Linked DNA regions of Homo sapiens: region 2 is linked to region 1. Evidence: promoter capture Hi-C in human tissues and cell types (Jung and others, 2019). All regions are on one chromosome and are shown on one strand. The core of a region is centred on a gene start or on the middle of the fragment in contact, and the rest is flanking DNA. Distances in the headings are between cores, read along the strand shown. Region 1 holds the start of CYP2W1 (cytochrome P450 family 2 subfamily W member 1). Region 2 has its middle 30 kb from the start of UNCX.

Region 1 (5,106 bases), core at 852-3,351:
GAGACCCAGCAGGGACACAAACACGGGGTCCCGGTAGTCAAATCGGCGGCCGAAGAGGAGCGCGAAGGTGATATTGGAGGGAGCCCAGCCCAGTAGGGCCAGCGGGAAGGGCCGGCCTGCGAGGGAGACGGGCCTCAGGCACGTCCAGGCCCGGGGAGGGGCGTCCCCGGCCCCCTGCTCACCTCTGTAGCCATCCAGCTGCCCAGAGAGGCATTTCAGCTCCTGCAGAATCTTGTCAGCCACCGGCTCCCGGCCCACGCCCAGGCTGTGCAGGGCACGCACCGTGAACTGGCGGGCAGCCCTCCAGCGCGCCCCAGATGAGAAGAAGATGCCTGTAGGCAGATACAGTGCGTGGTGAGCCCAGGTTCCCACCCCAGCCAGCCCCGCCAGGCAAGTGGGCAGGAAGTGAGCAGGCTGACAGGGCAGCGAGACTGGCTGGGCCCTCACCCCCATCCCCACTCCCGTCCCCCTGGGCTGGCCCTGGCCCCTCTTGACTTGGGATGAAAAGAACCCCGCTTGCTGGTTCTGAGCACCTGACCTGCTGTGTGGACACCTGGCCCTTCTCAGCACCAGCCCGGAGGCCCAGCTCCTGCCTGCTCTTCCCCAGGCCACCCTGGGAGCCTCTCCCGCTGCTGGAGCCCCCACCCCTCCTGGGGTCCAGGTGCCCCCACACCCAGTAGGCCCCGTAGCGCCGGCCACACACCGACCTCCACCTCGCTGGATGAGCTGGAAGATGGCGATGGGAGGCCGGTCGGCCAGCTCCTGCCCGGGGCCCGCCAGCGCCTCTTTGACCGCCTCGAACCCCGTCAGCACCACCGTCTTCTGGCGCCCCAGGTGCACGGTGAACACCGGCCCGTAGCGTTCTGAGAGCTGGCAGGGATGGCGGGGGTCACCCGGGCAGCCCTCACCCACAAGACCCCCCTTAGGTCCCCTCAGGCCGGGCCTGTGCTGGGTAGGGGTGGGGACAGAGGGAAAATGGGGGCAGGTGGAGGGGGCACGCCTAGATGCCATAAAGCCAGTGGTGCAGGGTGGAGGGGGCAGCGCCCAGCCTGGAGCCCACAGAGCCCTCTCGCCATCTGGTGCTTGGCATGGCTGTTGTGGGATTTTCTTTTTAGCCAAAATTCCTGGGGGGCTCAAGCCCTGAGTCCAGGCGGCAAGGTCGGGGGCTGGCTGTCTGCTGGGGTGGCACATTCTGAAAGGCCAGAGTCTGCACAGAGTGAGGGCCTGACAGGCTCGGCCCCCAGAGACCCTGATCCGTCTTCGGCTACAGCCCGGCCAGCAGCACCCCAGCCCGCAGTTGGGGGCAGCCGGAGGCAGGGCCCGGGCCTGACTGGTCAGCCCTGTCCCACTGACCCTGCCTGCCTGAGCGAGGACAGAGCGACAGTGCTAGTCAGGCTGCCCCGTGCCGTGTCCCCGTACCCTCTGTCCTCAGCATCCCTGCCCAGGAGGCACAGGTCCTCTTCCCATTTCACAGATGAGGAAACAGAGGCTCAAAAGTGGGAAGTGTTTGCTGTTGAACACCTGAGGGCCGAGGGGGGCTGAGCAGGCAGCCGACAGGCCCAGGCCCTCCTCCCCTCTGCTGTCCCTAAGCCTGGCCTCCTGCGGGCTCTCAGCAGACGCCACCGCCTCCAGGGAGCCCTCCAGACTCCTGCTCCCGCGCCGGGCCCTGGGTGGCACCTCCAGGGCTTCTTCGTACTCAGTGTGTCTGCTTCCCTGTGGGACGGGGTGGCTTTCCCCTCCCAAAAGCAGGGTGGGCCCTCCGGCCTCCTGCGTGCCCCGCTGGGCCCGGCACCATGTGGGAACAGGCAGTGGAAACCGGGCTGGGCTTCCCCAGGAGGGGGGCCAGGACACGGCAGCTGTCCAAGCGGCAAGAGCTGCCCGGGCTCCCTGACTTACCTCCATCAGGGACCGGTCCTGTTGCGACAGACGCAGCAAGTGCAGGTTCCCGACGAGCGGCAGCGGGCGAGGCCCCGGGGGCCACCGGGCAGCTGGGGAGGGGTCTTGGGCGCAGGCGCAGAGCAGCCCCCAGAGCCCCAGGAGGCCCAGGAACAGCAAGAGCAGCAGGGCCATGAGGACGTGGCTGGTGAGGCTCCACTCCCCTCCTGGGCCCCGTCCCCCCCGCACCCTTATAGGCCTCCGCGGGAGGGCGTGCCCGCACCCCACCCACCCCACCACCCCGAGAATGTGGAACGAGCAGTTTGCAGGGCAGCCCCCAGCGGATGGCTTAAAGCTGCAGGCCTGCGTGGAATGTGGGGCTGAGGCCCTGGTGGGGCCGGGGAGGGGAGGGCAGGACGGGGGCCCTCTGGGGTCAGGCATCCATGTCTCCTGGCCAGAGAGAAGGATGTGGCACGTGGACTGTTCTGCCCCTGGTTCTGCTGAACCTGCCAGTCCAGGCCCCTTGGCCTTGGCCACCCCTCAGAACTGGGATTCACAGGGCTTTGGGGCCGAGGCCCTGGCTTGGAGGGGAGCCCCCTGCCTTTCACAGGCTCTGAGTGGGACCCTGTGGAGCTCAGGGTTTGCAGGCCTCTCCCAAACCCCATCCGTGTGCACCCAGCTCTTCTCTGATCAGCTCCCCACGGGGCAAGGGACAGGAGTGAGACCTCAGGGAGGCCCATGAGGGGACTCAAATCCCACAGTCCTCACAGGCCACCACCTGCATCTCCCTGAGGGTGTTCTCGCCCCAGGTAGCAGCCTGCTCCTTTTCGAGGGCTGCCGCCCGGGCAGGGGATGCAACCCTCTGAGCTAGGACAGGAACATGGAAGGGCTGCCGGGTGGCAGGTGGCGGGGTTTACGAGCCCTGTCCATCTGTCTCCTAAACCGCTGTGAGGGGTGGGAGGGCTGCTGGCAGCAGAAGCGGCCGGGCCTGCTTTGCACAGCCTGCCCTGACATGAGGCAGCTGGAGCTGGTGCCAGCAGGCGGGACCCTCCCCACAGCCTGTCTCTGGGGCGTTGCCCATGCCCTGTACGAACCGCAGAGCCGAGGCAGCCTGAGGCCCTCACCCCTCCCGGGTTGGTCCCCCTTGATTAGCTGGGAGGGAAAGCCCCAGGCACAGTTGCACGCCTCCTGTGGTGGGGAGCTCACTACCTCTATCCTGCTGTACAGCCTCAGGGCCAGGGCTGGGCGGCTGCGGCGGGGAGGGAGTGCCTCATACCAGGGCCACTACTGGGTAGGCTGGGGGTCCTACCTGCCTAGCAAAGCTTACTTAATTAATTCAGGGAATACTTTTGATTTTTGTGTGTTTTGTTTTTGAGACAGGGTCTTGCTCTGTTGCCCAGGCTGGATTACCGTGCTGTGAGTACAGGCTCACTGCAGCCTCCACCTCCGGGGCTCAAGCCATCCTCCCACCTCAGCCTCCCAAATAGCTGGGACTACAGGCATGCACCACCCAGCCTAGCTAACTTTATTTATTTATTTATGTAGAAATGGAGGTCCTGCTACGTTGCTCAGGCTGGTCTCACACTCCTGGGTTCAAGCAATCCTCCTGCCTCGACCTCCCAAAGTGTTGGGATTGCAGGTGTAAGCCACTGCACCTGGCCTAATTTTTTAAGTTTTGGGTTTTTGTTGTTTTTGAGACGGAATCTCACTCTGTTGCCAGGCTGGACTACAATGGCGTGATCTCGGCTCACTGCAACCTCCGCCTCCCGGGTTGGAGCGATTCTCCTGCCTCAGCCTCCCGAGTAGCTGGGATTACAGGCACATGCCACCACACCTGGCTACTTTTTGTATCTTTAGTAGAGACGGGGTTTCACCATGTTGGCCAGGACAGTCTCGATCTCTTGACCTCATCATGATCCGCCCGCCTCGGCCTCCCAAAGTGCTGGGAATTTTGTAAGTTTCTTTTAGAGACGGAGTCTAGAGGCTGGTCTTCAACTCCTCCTGGGCTCAAGCGATCCTACTGTGGCCGCCTCCAAAAGCGCTGGGATTACTAGCATGAGCCAATGCCGGGCCGGCCTCTTTTTCTTTTCTTTTCTTTTTTTTTTTTTTTGAGATGGAGTCTCACTCTCGTCATCCAGGCTAGAGTGCAGTGGCATGATCTTGGCTCACTGCAACCTCCATCGCCCGTGTTCAAGTGATCCTCCTGCCTCAGCCTCCCGGGTAGCTGGGATTACAGGCATATGCAACCACACTCAGCTAATTTTTGTATTTTTAGTAGAGATGGGGTTTTGCCATGTTGGCCAGGCTGATCTCGAGCTCCTGACCTCAAGTGATCCACCTGCCTTGGCCTCCCAAAGCACTGGGATTACAGGCGTGAGCCACAGTGCCCAGCCCTCTTTTAAAAGTAACTCGTTGGCCAGGCGCAGTGGCTTATGCCTGTAATCCCAGCACTTTGGGAGGCTGAGGTGGGCGGATCACGAGGTCAGGAGATGGAGATCGAGACCATCCTGGCTAACACGGCAAAACCCCATCTCTACTAAAAATACAAAAAATTAGCCGGGCGTGATAGCGGGCGCCTGTAGTCCCAGCTACTCAGGAGGCTGAGGCAGGAGAATGGCGTGAACCCGGGAGGCGGAGCTTGCAGTGAGCTGAGATGGCACCACTGCACTCCAGCCTGGGCAACAGAGTGAGACTCCATCTCAAAAAAAAAAAAAAAAAAAAAGTAACTGTTACTGGGGAATTAACAGTACTCCTCTAACGGCTGCCTGTACGTGTTGCTTGCTCTGGGGGGCATGGCCGGGTGTGCATATTTGCATATTTACATTGTTTCCAATCTTAGGCTGTCACAGAACATCCTGATAAAAATATCTGTGTGCATACTTGCAAGGATGGGCACAGTTGCAAGGATATCTTAAAATAAATTCCTAGAAACCAGGTGGCTGAGCCAAGGCATTGTTGCTTTCTGATGTCCGGTGGACCTCCAGCGCCCTGCAGAGACGTGTGCCAACTGCAGCCTGGCTGCTCAAGTGGAACTTGGGACTGTTCTGATCAGACCTGATTGGTCCAGGCCTGCCAGACAGATACTCAGGCCTGAGCCATCTCTGTGACCAGGAGGAATGCAGTGCTGTGATTGGCTGGCTCAGGTCCTGCCTGCCCCTGACATCAGAGGCAGGGTGGGTGAGGTGGGTGGGTAGGTGGGCTCCCCCGGAGGGGCTGGAGTCAGACAGACCT
Region 2 (5,293 bases), core at 312-2,811, 220 kb before region 1:
GGGTGGTTCTATTTAAAATGAAGTCGCTGCTTGGTGTCCCTGGAGGTCATCTATTTTCTTAAACCAAAATGCGCAGCTGAGGACTTGTGCTCTGGTGCTGTTCTCTTCCTGGTGTCACCAATCATGGTTTTAAATGAACTCCGGCAAGAAGGCCTGGAACCCAAGAAGGCCCCACCCAGCACAGCTGAGCCCAGACGCTACCAGAAATTCGCGGCAACACCACTTGTGAGGCTTGCCAGAATAAATACGGAGCCCCTCACACAGCCCAGGAGGGGCAGAAAGAAACCCCGCTCCCTGACTGCAAGCAGCATATTTTTTATAGAATCAGAGTTACAGGGGAACTGTCTTGCTCTCCGAAATCCTTAGCCATGCACACACACACACATACACACACACACGCACGCACACGCACACACACACGCACGCACACGCACACACGCACAGCTCCAGCAAAGCCCGGTTGGCTGCCAATGGAGGAGTGCACACGTGCTGTTTTGGGGGCATTTGTCCAGCCAGCCCTGGCCTCAAAGGCTCAGATCTAAAACAAAAACAGAGTGAGGTGCCTGGGCGGAGTGGCTGGCATGCATCCCTCCCCTGGGTCTCTGGCCAGCCTTACTTAATTTTTTTTTTTTTTTTTTGAGACAGAGCCTCACTCTGTCACCCAGGCTGGAGTACAATGGCATGATCTGGGCTCACTGCAACCTCCACCTCCCTGGTTCCAGCAATTCTCCTGCCTCAGCCTCCTGAGTAGGTAAGATCACAGGCGCCCACCACCACGCCTGGCTAATTTTTTGTATTTTTAGTAGAGACAGGTTTTCACCATGTTGGCCAGGCTGGTCTCGAACTCCTGACCTTAAGTGATCTGTGTGCCTCAGCCTCCCAAAGTTCTGAGATTACAGGTGTGAACCACCTCGCCCAACCTGGCCAGTCTTATTTATTTCACATTTTGTTTATTATTTGGGAGTTCAGAGTAAATTACTTGACAAATTTGAATACTAAAGAGAAAATTTTCACATTCGGCCAGCCTAAATCACTATCGAAATTTACCCGCGGCTCTTTTCCCTCCGTCACCTGTTGTTGGAGTTTATAAGTATTGCTAAAATCTGAATGTGTCATGTCTTCCCATGTATCTGTGCCTTGTGACGGTAACTTACATACATTTCCAGATCTCCCTCAGCGCCCGTGGTTCTGAGGAACACTCCTTCCAACCTTAGAGAGAATAAATTGCTGCCCCCTTTAGGTTAAATGTGATTTGGCTTCTTTCTGTTGCACAATCTCTTTTTTTTCTTTTTTTTTTTTTTTTTTTTGAGACGGAGTCTTGCTCTTGTACCCCAGGCTGGAGTGCAATGGCACAATCTCGGCTCACTGCAACCTCCGCCTCCCAGGTTCAAGCGATTCTCCTGCCTCAGCCTCCCGAGTAGCTGGGTTACAGGCATGCACCACCACACCCGGCTAATTTTTGTATTTTCAGCAGAGACGGGGGTTTCACCATGTTGGCCAGGCTGGTCTTGAACTCCTGACCTCAGGTGATCCTCCCACCTCGGCCTCCTAAAGTGCTGGGATTACAGGCGTGAGCCACCGCGCCCGGCCTCTGCTGCACAACCTCTTTTGCACAAATATGTCAAATTTGAATTTTCACATATTAATTAGCCCCATTCAATGGCTTCTCAAGTCAGCTTTCAGTCAGTGCAGGCCATTGTACTTTGGTAATTGCATAGTGTAAACCTTCTTCTTCTACTGCTCCACAGATTCTCACTAGTGAAGTGCTATTCTCTTTTCATCGGGACTAAAAATAAGAAACTAGGGACCCTCTGTTTTAAGTATATTCTGCATGACACTACTGTGGCAGTTTGGGGAAGAAAGAAGGGAAAGAATTTGCAGGCTGGGCACAGTGGCTCAGGCCTGTAACCCCAGCACTTAGGGAGGCGGAGGCAGGAGGATCGCTTAAGCCCAGGAGTTTGAGACCAGCCTGGACAACATAGCAAGACCCCATCTCTACAAAGGAAAAATTTTAAAATTATCTGGGCAAGGTGACACACACCTGTGGTCACAGATAATTGGGAGGCTGAGGTGGGAGGATTGCTTGAGCCTGGGAGTTCAAGACCAGCCGGGGCAACACAGTGAGACTCCACCTCTAAAAAATTAAAAATAGGCTGGGCGTGCCAGGTGCAATGGCTCACGCCTGTAATCCCAGCACTTTGGGAGACCAAGGCGGGCAGATCACGAGGTCAGGAGATTGAGACCATCCTGGCTAACATGGTAAAACCTCATCTCTACTAAAAATACAAAAAATAGCCAGGCATGGTGGCGGGCGCCTGTAGTCCCAGCTACCCGGGAGGCTGAGGCAGGAGAATGGTGTGAACGCAGGAGGCGGAGCTTGCAGTGAGCCAAGATCACGCCACTGCACTCCAGCCTGGGTGACAGAGCAAGACTCCATCTCAAAAAAAAAAAAAAAAAAAAAAAGAAAGAAAAATATAGGCTGGGTGCAATGGCTCACACCTGTAATCCCAGCACTTTGAGAGGCTGAGGCAGGCGGATCACTTGAGCTCAGGACTTTGAGACCAGCCTGGCCAACATGGCAAAACCCCGTCTCTTGTAAAAATACAAAAATTACCCTGGCATGGTGGCGGGCACCTGTAGTCCCAGCTACTCGGGAGGCTGAGGTGGGAGAATCGCTCAAACCCAGGAGGAGGAGGTTGCAGTGAGGTCACTGCACTGCACTCCAGCCTAGGCAACAGAGCAAGACTGCATCTCAGAAAAAAGTAAAAAATAAAAAATAAAAAAAGTAGTGCCTGAGCGTGCTTCCGTGCTGTGGACGGCAGGTGCCTTTGGATGATGACAACGGAGGTGGCCATGGCGGCAGCACAGCACAGTTGCTGAAAAAGCCTCTGCATAGAGGCCCCTGTCCATGCCACATGGCCACCTCCAGGGGACCAAACTGCCAGGAATACCAAGACAGGAATACCGAGAAGCCAGCACAGAGGCCTCACGACCTCTGCTCCCCGGGACCTCCGGCTCTCACTTTCACAGCCACAGAGATGCACCCGGGCGATGTGGCAGGGCCGTCTCTGAAACTGGAAAGGTTCCCTTGTCCCCCTCGCAGGATGTGTGATGAGATGTGTCTCGCTTCCTCAGTACCCCGCTCTCAACCTCCAGGGGAGCATACAGACGGGCAGGCTGTGGGGCTCCCACCCCACGGCAGTGTCTAAGGCTGGATGTTTCCAGCTCCTGAGGCCCCAGTGGGCGTGTGTTCCAGGGTGCCCTATAGGCAGCTTGTGTTAACCAGCTCAATTCGACCCTCTACCTTGCCCCAAGGACAGAGGGCTTTCTGCATCCCAGGTTCTTGCCTTGGTGTACCAGAAGGATCACACTTGGGCTGGGAGAATGAGTGCAAAGTTTTATTGAGTGGAGGTGGTTTTATTAAGCCAGAAGGGAGATGGTCTTTCCCTGGAGATGGGCCTCTCGGGGGGCCCAGCTCTCCTCTGACTGCCCCGGTTGATGGATCGATGGTCGGCCAGCGTGCCAGAGTCTGTCGGTGAGCCCTCCTGGCTGGCGTGCTCCTCTCGACGACCAGCCACATGCATCTTCTTCCTCCGATGTGCTCCTCTCCACCTCTGGCCACCTGTGTGTCTGCCCGCTAGGGTCTCAGGTTTTCAGAGGCCCAGGATGGGGGCATGGCGGGCCAGGGTGGTCTTGGGAAATGCAACATTGGGGCAGGAAATCCCTGTCCTCACCTAGGTCCATGGGGGTGGAGCCCTAGCCAGGGACCTGCCTTTCTCTACCCAGCACTTCCCTCCTGTATCATTGAAAGGGTTCACACTCTTCCCTTCCCAGTACTCCGGTATCATTTCCACTGCAGAAGTGGCAAATGTGGCCGTGGCCTGCATGGCCAAGCTGCAGCATTCACAGCTGCACATCTTCTGCACAACTTTGCAAGGAAGAGGAAGCACTCCTGGTTTTGGGTTTTTTTTTGTGTTGTTGCTTCTTTTTTTTTTTTTTTTTTGAGACGGAGTCTCGCTCTGTCACCCAGGCTGGAGCGCAGTGGTGCCATCTCGGCTCACTGCAAGCTCCACCTCCTGGGTTCACGCCATTCTCCTGCCTCAGTCTCCCAAGTAGCTGGGACTACAGGCGCCTGCCACCACACCTGGCTAATTTTTTTTTGTATTTTTAGTAGAGATGGGGCTTCACTGTGTTAGCCAGGATGGTCTCGATCTCCTGACCTCGTGATCCGCCCGCCTCAGCCTCCCAAAGTGCTGGGATTACAGGCATGAGCCACTGTGCCTGGCCTGTTGTTGCTTTTTTGAGACGGAGTCTCGCTCTGTCACCCAGGCTGGAGTACAGTGGCATGATCTTAGCTCACTGCAACTTCTACCTCCTGGGTTCAAGCAATTCTCCTGCCTCAGCCTCCCAAGTAACTGGGATTACAGGCACCCACGACCATGCCTGGCTCATTTTTGTATTTTTAATAGAGATGGAGTTTCACCATGCTGCCCAAGCTGGTCTCAAACTCCTGACCTCAGGTGATCGTGTGCCTTGGCCTCCCAAAGTGCTGGGATTACAGACATGAGCCACCACACCCCACCCACTCCTGGTTTTTTGTTGGCTGAGGTTAAAAATCAATCTTAAGAAGCAACAACACCAAACCACTCTGAAGAGCGCTGTTCTCACGCACGCACGTTCTCGGGGCTCATGGGTTTGAGCGGAGCCTCCCTGGGATGGGAGATTGGCAGCCTGGAGCCCTGGGGGACGGACCCATTCAGCATCTTTACCTTAATTGCTTCCATGCGCCATATGTATCCCAGGACCGCGTAAACAACAGCCCAAAACAACAGGAGGCAGAACTGTACTTCTCACCGGGGCTTCTGTGGAACTTGGGAAAACTGCCAGCAAGATTCAAGAGCCAAGCGCGGCGCCTTCCCCAGGCTCGAGGCCAAGTGGAGGCCGGGGAGCGCGTAGGCAAGAGCCTCCGAAGAACTGCACGCCCCTTGGGGGGCCCCGAGTCGGGGAGCCACCACCCAGCACTGTTGGGACAGGCACAGACTCATCTCTAGCAGGGAGACAATGTGCGTTCATTAGAATTCCGTGGGGCCCGGGGCGGCTTCTGAGAATTTAGAGGCCAGCAGTTTTGCTAGGTGAGGAGGTTAGAAGAAAATAAGCCCCTTGACCCAAACTTCACTTAAAAAAAATTATGTATTTTATTTCTATGGATTGATTGATTGATTGATTGAGGCAGAGTTTCACTCTGTCGCCCAGGCTGGAGTGCAGTGGCATGATCTCAGCTCACTGCAACCTC

The links. The method cuts DNA at HindIII sites, captures the fragments that hold promoters and counts their contacts. A contact is called where the count stands out against the background at its distance.
Region 2: a contact is called between a fragment that was not itself captured here and the fragment with the promoter of CYP2W1 in region 1, in 2 of the 25 tissues and cell types used here (aorta and dorsolateral prefrontal cortex).

The regions. Positions count from the first base shown.
Region 1 is chr7:980,176-985,281 of GRCh38, reverse strand. CYP2W1 (cytochrome P450 family 2 subfamily W member 1) reads right to left here and starts at 2,101. Exons shown (of 9, transcript NM_017781.3): 1 at 1,897-2,101; 2 at 708-870; 3 at 183-332; 4 at 1-116. The coding sequence starts at 2,070. It also overlaps a transcript of CHLSN not described here. The HindIII fragment of the contact is 22,766 bases long and covers 1-4,842 here.
Region 2 is chr7:1,199,835-1,205,127 of GRCh38, reverse strand. No RefSeq gene overlaps it. Among named protein-coding and RNA genes, the nearest start is that of UNCX, 30 kb to the left of the region's middle. The HindIII fragment of the contact is 9,567 bases long and covers 1-5,293 here.